3 separate regions of the Homo sapiens genome follow, and regions 1 and 2 are each linked to region 3. The links are contacts of gene promoters, found by promoter capture Hi-C in blood cells and fetal thymus (Javierre and others, 2016). All regions are on one chromosome and are shown on one strand. Each heading gives the region's core, a stretch centred on a gene start or on the middle of the fragment in contact. The rest is flanking DNA. Distances are from core to core; before and after follow the strand shown.

Region 1 (3,474 bases), core at 291-2,790, 570 kb after region 3:
TCAAAAAAAAAAAAAAAAAAGAAAGAAAGAAAAAGAAAACAAATACATAAATAGTCAGAATAAATAGCTCTACGAGTTAAAGGTGGTCCCTGTATCAAGAATGAGACATGCAGATGGAGAGCCTGCTGAAGGGAATGCTGTTTTCCATTAAAGATCTTATTATTTTGCTTTAAAAAATTGTTTGCATCATTAGATAGAAAATAAAGTTTAATTGAAAAAAATAAGATTTCTATAAGGAAAACACTAACATAGGGCCAGGCGTGGTGGCTCACGCCTGTAATCCCAGCACTTTGGGAGGCCAAGACGGGTGGATCATCTGAGGTCAGGAGTTCGAGACCAGCCTGGCAGACATGGTGAAACCTTGTCTCTACTAAAAATACAAAAATTAGCCAGGCATGGTGGCACATGCTTGTAATTCCGGCTACTCGGGAGGCTGAGGCAGGAGAATCGCCTGAACCTGGGAGGCGGAGGTTGCAGTGAGCCGAGATCGTGGCACTGCACTCCAGCCTGGGCAACAGAGTGAGACCCTGTATCAAAAAAAAAAAAAAGAAAGAAAGAAAAAACAAACATAAAAACGAATTTGAGGCCAGGTGCAGTGGCTCATGCCTGTAATCCCAGCACTTTGGAAGGCTGAAGCAGGTGGATCACCTAAGGTCAGGAGTTCGAGACCAGCCTGGCCAACGTGGCGAAACCCCATCTCTACTAAAAATACAAAAATTAGCCCAGTGTGGTGACGTACGCCTGTAATCCCAAGCTGCTCAGGATGCTGAGTCAGAAGAATCTCTTGAACCCAGGAGGCAGAGGTTGCAGTGAACCGAGATGGCGCTACTGCACTCCAGCTTGGGCAACAGAGCAAGACTCTGACTCAAAAAAAAAAAAAAAAAAAAGAACTGTTTGCATCATTAGATAAAAAATAAAGCTTAATTGAAAAACAGTATGATTTCTATCATATAAAAGCAAACATAGAAAATGAGTCGTATGGCAAACCACAGCCTTGCTCCCGACATGCCTCACGAGCCCCATATACCCACAGAGGCCAGGAGCAGCCAGACTCACTGGCTTTACAGTTTGGTTTTGTTTGTTTTAACTTTTTTGCAGAGAACGGGGTCTCCCTATGTTGCCCAGGCTGGTCTCGAACTCCTGGGCTCAAGCAATCCTCCCGCCTTGGCCTCGCAAAGTGCTGGGATTACAGACATAAGCCCCGTGCCTGACCGGCTTTATAGTCTTTTTTTTTTTTTTTTAGACGGAGTCTCACTCTCTCACCCAGGCTGGAGTGCAGTGGCGCAATCTAGGCTCACTGCAAGCTCCACCTCCCGGGTTCACACATTCTCCTGCCTCAGCCTCCCAAGTAGCTGGGACTACAGGCGCCCACAACCACGCCTAACTTTTTGTTAAATTAGCACACCATGCTAATTTTTTGTATTTTTTTTTTTTAGTAGAGACGGGGTTTCACCGTGTTAGCCAGGATGGTCTCGAACTCCTGACCTCGTGATCCGCCCGCCTCGGCCTCCCAAAGTGCTGGAATTACAGGCGTGAGCCACCGTGCCTGGCCGACTTTACAGTCTTAAACGGGTTGTTGTGCTCCCTTTTTCTTGGGTGGGGGGGTTTGCACACCTTCAGTTGAATTCGTGCAAGTTAGAAGAGATTCCACCATAGTGAAAAAGTGGTGACTCTACCTAAATGTCCATTAACTGAGAACACAGCTGGCTGAAGACAGCCACAGAATAGTCATATACTGGAGTAAAATGCAGTCACAGGCTGGGCGCGGTGGGTCACACCTGTACTGTCTGCACTTTGGGAGGCCGAGATGCCAGGAGTTCAAGACAGGCTGGGCAGCAGAGTGAGCCCTGTCTGATATAGCTTGGATATTGGTCCCTGCCCAAATCTCATGTTGGAATGTGATCCCTGGTGCTGGAGGTGGGACCTGATGGGAGGTGGAGGTCATGGGGGCGACTCCCTCAAGAATGGCTGGGGCCATCCCCTTGGCGACAACTGAGCTCCCTGCTCTGAGTTCACAGGAGAACTGGGTGTGTAGAAGTGTGTGGCACCCCCACCCCTCACTCTCTTGCTCCTGCTTTTGCCCTGTTGCGGCGCCTGCTCCCTGCTCGCCTCCCACCATGAGTGCGAGCTCCCAAGGCCTCCCCAGAAGCTGATGCCAGAGCCAAGCTTCCTGTGCAGCCTGCAGAACCGTGAGCCAATTAAAGCTCTTTTCTTTATAAATAACCCAGTCTCAGGTATTTCTTTATAGCAATATGAGAACAGTCTAATACACTGTCTCTACAAAGAAAATTACAGAATTAGCTGGGCATGGTGGAGCATGCCTGTAATACTAGCATCTTGGGAGGCCAAAGCAGGAGGATCACTTGAGCCCAGGAAGTTGAGGCTGCAGTGAGCCCTGATGGCACCACTGCACTCCAGCCCAGGTGACAGAGCAGACCCTGTCTCAAAAAAGTAAAATAAAATTAAACGTATTAGCATATGAATATCTCTACTTTATTTTGCTGTTTATTTTTCTTTTTTCAGCAGGTGAGTTGGTGCACACCCTATAGCCGATTCCAGCTGTGTGGTGCCGTCCTGCTGTTATGTGATTATTTACAGGAGAGTTCACTTGGTTCACATCAGGGGTCACTCATGATGGGCCCTTCTCTGGGTCTGTCAAATGCTAATCTCATGTGCAGACCATCACAGTGTCCTTTTCCGGCCCTAAAGCCCGCTGTGCTTCTCATATCCATTTCTTTCCCCCTTGACCATCACAGTGTCACACAAAGTCGTTTTCTGGCCCTAAAGCCCACTGTGCTTCTCCTATCCTTTCCTTTCCCCCTTGTCCTAACCTTCTGACAACACCTGACCATTTTCTTTTTTTGGAGAGAGGGTCTGCTCTGACTCCTAGACTGGAGTGCAGAGGCATGATCTTGGCTCACTGAAACCTCTGCCTCCTGGACTCAAGCAATCCTCCTGCCTTAGCCTTTCTCAAATAGCTAGGTCTACGCTACAGGGGTGTGCCACCACACATGGTTAATTTTTGGGTTTTTTTTGTTTTGTTTTGTTTTGTTTGAGATGGGGCCCCACTATATTGTCCAACCTGGTCTTGAACTCCTGGGCTCAAACATCCACCTGCCTCGGCCTCCCAAAGTGCTGGGATGACAGGCATGAGCCACCGCGCCTGCTGGGATGACGGCATGAGCCACCGCGCCTGCTGGGATGGCGGCATGAGCCACCGTGCCTGCTGGGATAATGGCATGAGCCACCGCGCCTGCTGGGATGACAGGCATGAGCCACCACGCCCAGCCTCCTGACCTTTTAATTATCTCCATAGTTTTACCTTTTCCAGGATGTCACTTGGTTGGAGTCACACAGTAGGCAGACTCTTCAGATCAGTGTCTTTCACTTGGTAATGTGCACCTAACGTTTCCTCACTATCGCTTCATGGCTTGATGGCTCACTCTTTTTCATTGCTGTATAATATTCCATTGC
Region 2 (3,521 bases), core at 474-2,973, 540 kb after region 3:
CCAGGCACGGTGGCTCACACCTGTAATCCCATCACTTTGGGAGCCTGAGGTGGGAGGATCACTTGAGCCTAGGAGTTGGAGACCAGCTTGGGCAACATAACAAGACCTTGACTTTACAAAAATTTTAAAATTAGCCAAGCGTGATGGCACATGCCTGTGGTCTCAGCTACTCAGGAGGCTGAGCTGGGAGAATCAGTTGAACCTGGGAGGGTGAGGCTGCCGTGAATCATGATCGTGTCACTGCACTGCGTCCTGGGCAACAGAGCTACCAGCGACCCTGTCTCAAAAAAGAAAGAATAAAAGAAATAGTCTAGTCTAGGTGTGGAGACTCATGCCTATAATCCTAGTACTTTGGAAGGCCAAGATGGGAAGATCACTTGAGCCCAGGAGTTTGAGACCAGCTTGGGCAACATAATGAGACCCCCATCTCTAAAACAAAACGAAAAAAAGAAATAGTCTGATTTTAAATTTGGTGTAGATAACAGAGTTGACTAAGGACCTGGAGCAAATTTTATGTGGTCATGGGAGTAGTCTCTGGGTCCCTCCGCTCCCCACATTTCTGTCGCCTAACCTGGACACAGACTCTCTTCCAAGTGCAGTTCCGGACGTTCCCTCCCAGTTGCGTTCATGAAACGTGTGCTGCGCCTGCCCCATCCTCCCCAGGCCTTGCCCTGATGTCGCACCACTAATAAGCTTAGAGGGTTCCAGAAACAGTACACGTTTAAAATAATTTTGAGTTCTCCTGAGTCTGTTTAATCTGCTTCTTCATAGGCTGTAACACTCTGAATTTTTTAAGTGCTAAAAGTTGCATTAATATTGACTTGTGCTTCCTGAAGCATGCTCGTGAAAAGTGACTGTACTGCTGTGACAGGTTCTCACCAAGGTCCTAAACTGACCTGAGACTAGGGCCGGATTCCTGCGTCCATGCTCCTACCCCTGGTGGTCCAGGGCGATGCCGTGTCCCATCCGCTTGCCTGCGTCCCTGGACAGGAGCTTCCCATGCACCGCAGCCTTCGTCCTAACGGGACCACGTGTGGGGGAGGAAATCATCGAAGGCAGCAGGGAATTGGGGTTTTATGGGTACAAAAGGCAAAACATGTGCTTTTTCCCAGACTTACCTTCATTCCCATAGCCTGAACAATCAAAATGTCCTGGGAAATTATAAATGGCTTTGCAGAGTTTTTCTCCTTAAATAAATTTTCTTTCATTTTTTCTTTTTTTGAGACGGAGTCTCGTTGTCGCCCGGGCTGGAGTGCAGTGGCATGATCTTGGCTCACTGCAACCTCTGCCTCCTGGGTTCAAGCGATTCTCATGCCTCAGCCTCCCAAGTAGCTGGGATTACAGGCACCCGCAACCACGCCCAGCTAATTTTTGTATTTTTAGTGGAGACGGGGTTTCGCCATGTTGCCCAGGCTGATCTAGAATTCCTGGCCTCAAGTGATCCACCCACCTCAGCCTCCCAAAGTGCTAGAATTACAGGCGTGAGCCACCGTGCCCAACCTTCTTTTTTGCTAAGAGACACCTAATTAGACAGTGGCTCCTGTGGAAGTAGTCACTTCTGTGTATTTGATATGTCAATAATTTGGTCTTTGGGTATATTTTGACAGCACTGGGCAAAAACCATTCCAGAAAAGATGGACTCAGTGATGAAAGAGGAAGAGATGACTGTGGAACCTTTGAGGACACAGGGCCCCTTCTCCAGGTGGGTAGCAGTTGTTGCTTTTTATAGAATATAGATTTGCTGTGGAGTAGCCTGACTAGAGAATTAGGGTCACAGCTAGTTAAGCTATAAGGCCTGAAGCGTAAACTCCTTTTTAATCCCTTCAGTCACTAAATGTCACCTTCTGAAGAATAACCTTATTGGAGACAAGGAAATGTAAATATGATGGAGTTTTGAAAGAGATAGTAGCACTTATTTTGAATGGCTAAGCTCTCCTCTGTTCTCTACCACAGAGCCAGCTCTAGTGGCACTTTTCAAATAAAAAAAAGTTTGCCAAGTACAGATTGCAAATCTAGATTAAATTTAAAATTTAATTACAAGCTCACGCCTGTAATCCCAGCACTTTGGGAGGCCCAGGCGGGCAGATCACCTGAGGTCAAGAGTTCGAGACCAGCCTGGCCAACACAGTGAAACCCGTCTCTACTAAAAATACAAAAATTAGCCCGACACCGTGGCGCACGCCTGTAATCCCAGCTACTCGGGAGGCTGAGGCAGGAAAATCATTTGAACCCGGGAGGTGGAGGTTGCAGTGAACTGAGATCATGCCACTGCACTCCAGCCTGGGTGACAGACTCTGGCTCAAAAAAAAAAAAAAAAAAGCACACCCAGGTAAATTTTGTTGTGGGTACTCTATCACAATTTTTTTTTTTTAAGAATTGCTTACCCAGCTTTTCCCAAGAATAATTTTTTTTTTTTTTGAGACAGAGTCGCACTCTGTCTCCCAGGCTGGAGTGCGGTGGCTCGATCTCGGCTCACTGCAAGCTCTGCCTCCTGAGTTCACGCCATTCTCCTGCCTCAGCCTCCCGAGTAGCTGGGACTACAGGCGCCCGCCATCACGCCCGGCTAATATTTTGTATTTTTAGTAGAGACGGGGTTTTGCCGTGTTAGCCAGGATGGTCTCGATGTCCTGACCTTGTGATCCACCCGCCTCAGCCTCCCAAAGTGCTGGGATTACAGGCATGAGCCACCGCGCCCGGCCTGAACATGCATTTTTCAAAGGTAGTGCTTGTGCTCCTGGTTGCCAAGTCCCAGCACAAGCTTGTTTAGCCTATCTGTTGCCAAATGCTTCAGTAAGGGTTTCTCTTACTAGCAGATGTAAATGGCCAAGTCAGGCAGTGTTGTTTGGCTGCAGACTTATGTTTAGTTTCTCTTCCTGCCTAGTTTGACTATAAGGCTGTTGCTGATCGACTCCTGGAAATGACCAGCAGGAAGAACACGCCCCACTTCAACAGGAAGCGCCTCTCCAAACTCATCAAGAAGTCAGTAACTGGGGAGAGGGTTCTGACATCATCATTCCTTTAGTTCTCATCTCCTGGTGTGGGACAAGCCATCTGCATGCTTATCTTTTTTCTTTCTTCTTTTTTTGTCCTTTAATGCTTTTGTGTATAGCAATGTAATAGACACATGTAAACTGAAAAGCTTAATGGAAACAGCAGTCCCACCCCTCAGGTTCCATTCTTCCAGTGCAGCCATACTCATCTCTTAGCTGCTTTAGAATGATGTGAAGTCTATTCATGTCTAAAATGAACCAACCAGAAACTGATGTGAATCTGCTATTTAGGTGTCTTCTGCTGGTGTGCTGCTGAGATAGATAGGGTTAATTCTTTACCTCTCCCCTCCCTCCCATATGGCTATGCCAAAAGTGTTAGTTAATTCAGCTGTCAGTGTTGATGTCACTCTGACCATAGTGACATGATGACCTGGAATTCATGGAGGGCCTCGTGTGGCTTGCTGTCATTGGTGACAACAACTGTCTGATCACACTCTAGGAGCCGGGCACTGCTCTGAGCACTTTGTATAC
Region 3 (3,646 bases), core at 524-3,023:
AGCTCAGACAGGCTCGGGGGACTGGGAGATGGAAGCCATCGCCTTTACCTTGGGCATTTCATCTTAGGTCCCATGGAAACAGGGGCCATGGGTTGGTACTTATCATTTCTTTTAAACAGATAATGGCATACAGTAAGTCCTCAATTTCATCACAGCTTCCTGGAAACTGTGACTTTAAGCAAGACAACATATAATGAAACCAATTTTACCATAGGCTAGTTGATATAAACAAGAGTTAAATTCCTATGTCATAGGCTGGGTGCGGTGGCTCACACCAGTAATCCCAGCACTTTGGAAGGCCAAAGCGGGCAGATCACCTGAGGTTGGGAGTTCAAGACCAGCCTGACCAACATGGAGAAATACTAAAAATACAAAAGTAGCTGGGTGTGGTGGTGCATGCCTGTAATCCCAGCTACTCGGGAGGCTGAGGCAGGAGAATCGCTTGAACCTGGGAGGTGGAGGTTGCAGTGAGCCGAGATCACGCCACCGCACTCCAGCCTGGGCAATAAGTGTGAAACTCTGTCTCAAAAAAAAAAAAGAGGCATATTTCTGCTCTCAAAACATCACCAGAACAGGTGTGGTGGCTCACACCTGTAATCCCAGCACTTCGGGAGGCTGAGGTGGCAGATCTCTTGAGGCAAGGAGTTCAAAACCAGCCTGGGCGACATGATGAAACCCCATCTCTACAAAAAATGCCCCCCAAATTAGCCAGGAAAGGTGGTGTGTGCCTGTGGTCCCAGCTACTTAGGAGGCTGAGGTGGGAGGATTGCTTGAGCCTCAGAGGCTAAGGTTGCGGTGAGCTGTGATCACACCACCACACTCCAGCCTGGGCGACGGAACAAAACCCTATTTCCAAAAAAACCCCACAAAAAAACAAAAAACACCACCAAATTTCTAAAGACCCAAACACTTCTAATATTAAACATTGAAATAAATGTAAACTATCCCTACATGTAGAGGTAGCTACACCTACATAAGGAAGATTAATACAAACAAGTGAGATCATGATCTACCCAATATTTGGGATGTCTGTGAGTGACGGCGGTGGTAGTGGTGGTGGTGAAATCACGGAATCAATGTCTGCAAAGCACACGCTCTTGGGAGCACCTCCTCCCACCGCACAGCTGAAAGACAAGCGACCGTGAGTATGGCGGCTCCTTGAGCACCCTCACACGCGGCGTTTGTTGTCATGCGTTTGTGTGATTACCGTAGGCTTTATAATTTTTATTTGATAATTTATATTCATGTATTCATTCATTTTCCAACTTGCTTTCTCCAGTTCAGAGTGGCAGGTGACCAGGGCCCATCCTGGAGGCTCAGTGCCAAGGTGGGCACCCGCCCTGGATAGGACAGGCCTCCATGGGACACCCACACTCACTCGGACTAGGCCCATGTAGACATGCCGTGAGGCTGAGGTGTATACTTGGGATGTGGGAGGAAACTGGAGGACCTGGAGAAAACCCGCGCGGACCTGGGGAGACCTCCTCAATGCTCCCTAGAATGAAACGATGGGATTTGAGGACCTGCTGTATTTATTTGTCCCAATCCAGCGGCCCTGGCCTTCAGTGCACAGTAGTCCCTGCTGCTGGGCACACATCCCCTCATGCTCAGTCCATTGACCAGGACTGGGCACATGGCCTCACCTAGCTGCGGGCAGTGGCTTCTGCCCTGGGGCAGGCAGCTGCTCCAGGTCTGGAGATGAGCCCCACCTCCAGGTGCAGCTGCTCCAGGTGTGGAAACGGGGCTCTACCTCGTGGGGAGCGTCCGCTGCGGGCCACAACCTTGCTGGGAGGCTGCGGGAGATGGGGGGTAAGAGGGGTGATGTTGAGGCTTTCCCTCCTCGGCAGTGACCGGCGCAGCCCTCCCCAGTGTAGCTCCCCCCTCCCCACCCCTCCCTCCATCTGGAACACAGCACGGGGGCTGCCCTCCAGCCCTCAGTGTGCAGGGCTTGCACACCTTGGCTTGCAGGGCATTTGGGGGATCCCAGTGGGGCAACTGCCAGCTGGAGAGATGCTGGTGCCCAGCCGTGCTGCTCCTGGGGGCAGGCTGGGTAGGGGCTGAGGGGCCGGAGTGAGCGGTCCACAGTCATCCAGGAACAACAGGGCTCTCACCTGGCAGGGCTCCCAGGCACGTTGATGGAGGGAGGGTTTCCTCAGTCCTCTCCCCCAGCCCTTACTGGGCAGTACCCCCACCCACCATACTGTCTCTTGCCTGGGTCTCAGGTGGTTGGCGCTGTCTGGCCCCTGCCTCTCCCTCTGTCCCTTCAGCTGAAGCGGGCTCCACGCCATCCCAGGACTTCCCGCGCGGTCTGAAGCACAGCCACATCCGGTCTGACCGTCCCTCACCCCTCCCTCACCCCTCCCTCGCCCCCCCTCGCCCCTCCCTCGCCCCTCCCTCGCCCCCCCTCGCCACCCCAGGAGGAAATAGAGGCTGAGTGTCCGTGCCCTGCAGCCGAGCAGCCACCCTTGCCTTTGGCCCCACCTTCGCCTGCCTGGCGGCCGTCCTGTCACCTGTCATTCAGCCCTTGCTGTCTGCTGGGCACGTGCCCTGCAGGTGGGGTGCACGGCAGGCCCATGAGTGCCCACCATGCCTCGCCATTCAGGAAGCCACCCAGGTGCTCCGGGCGGTGTCAGGGCAGGGTGCGTCTGTGCGGCGTTTGCATGTGTCCACCGTCCTGACCGGGGGCAGGGCCACGTCCCACACATCTTTCTGCCTAACTTATGATGTGGCAAAGACACATCCCGATACCTCTCCCGGGTGGGCCTGTGAGCTGGGCTCTGTGACGCCAAGGCCCAGGACCTGCTCAGCCCTGGGAAGATGGAACTGGAGGGGACCTTGAGATGGCTGGCCCAGCCCCTTGTCTTATAGACAGGGAGACAGCAGAAAGGGAGATGGAGTCACCGGCCAGGACCCCAGCTATGAGTGGGAGCTGGACCAGGAGTTGAGTGTCCTGAGCCACCTCCTCCCTGTGCTGGGTCCACTCTCAGAAACACTCCAGGTCTGGAGGCAGACCTGGAGGCAGGGCAGGGCAGGGCAGGGAGGGCAGAATGGCTATGATGTGGTGAGGCTGTGTCCCCACCCAAATCTCACCTCGAATTGTAATCCCCAGGTGTTGAAGGAGGGAGGCGATTGGATCATGAGGCGGTTTCCTCCATGCTGTTCTCATGATAGCTAGTGAGTTCTCATGGGATCTGATGGTTTTATAAGGGGCTCTTCCCCCTTCGCTTGCTCTTGCTCTCTCTCTCCTGCCACCATGTGAAGAAGGTGCCTGCTTCCCCTTCAGCCATGACTGTAAGTTTCCTGAGGCCTCCCCAGCCATGCAGAACTCTGAGTCAATGAAAACTCTTTCCTTTAGAAATCACCCAGTCTCAAGTAAGTTTTTTTTTTTTTTTTTCAGACAGAGTCTTGCTCTGTCACCCAGGCTGGAGTGCAGTGGCACCATCTCGGCTCACTGCAACCTGCGCCTCCTGGGTTCAAGCGATTCTCGTGCCTCAGTCTCCCGAGTAGCTGGGATTACAGGTGCCTGCCACCACTGCCAGCTAATTTTTGTATTTTTGGTAGAGATGGGGTTTCACCATGTTGGCCATGATGGTCTCGAACTCCTGACATCAGGTGATCCACCCACCTCGGCCTCCCAAAGTGCTGG

Evidence for each region. Contacts are between HindIII fragments. The CHiCAGO score rates a contact against its expected background, and 5 or more counts as called.
Region 1: a contact is called between a fragment that was not itself captured here and the fragment with the promoter of FRGCA in region 3, in 2 of 17 cell types (M1 macrophages and naive CD4 T cells). The highest score is 5.1, in M1 macrophages.
Region 2: a fragment that was not itself captured here is called in contact with the fragment with the promoter of FRGCA in region 3 in 5 of 17 cell types (naive CD4 T cells, M1 macrophages, M0 macrophages and 2 more); the score reaches 6.3 in naive CD4 T cells.

Annotation. Positions count from the first base shown.
Region 1 is chr21:43,705,726-43,709,199 of GRCh38, forward strand. No RefSeq gene overlaps it. Among named protein-coding and RNA genes, the nearest start is that of PDXK, 12 kb to the right of the region's middle. RefSeq lists an enhancer at 1,503-2,036. The HindIII fragment of the contact is 1,247 bases long and covers 918-2,164 here.
Region 2 is chr21:43,681,672-43,685,192 of GRCh38, forward strand. It overlaps RRP1B (ribosomal RNA processing 1B), which reads left to right. Exons shown (of 16, transcript NM_015056.3): 9 at 1,608-1,702; 10 at 2,882-2,979. Among named protein-coding and RNA genes, the nearest start is that of RRP1B, 24 kb to the left of the region's middle. The HindIII fragment of the contact is 2,065 bases long and covers 692-2,756 here.
Region 3 is chr21:43,139,319-43,142,964 of GRCh38, forward strand. FRGCA (FOXM1-regulated, gastric cancer associated) reads right to left here and starts at 1,774. Exons shown (of 2, transcript NR_133677.1): 1 at 1,644-1,774; 2 at 1,205-1,495. The region is part of intron 4 of LOC101928369 (a long non-coding RNA gene); the gene reads left to right. RefSeq lists enhancers at 2,167-2,704, 2,705-3,240. The HindIII fragment of the contact is 22,159 bases long and covers 1-3,646 here.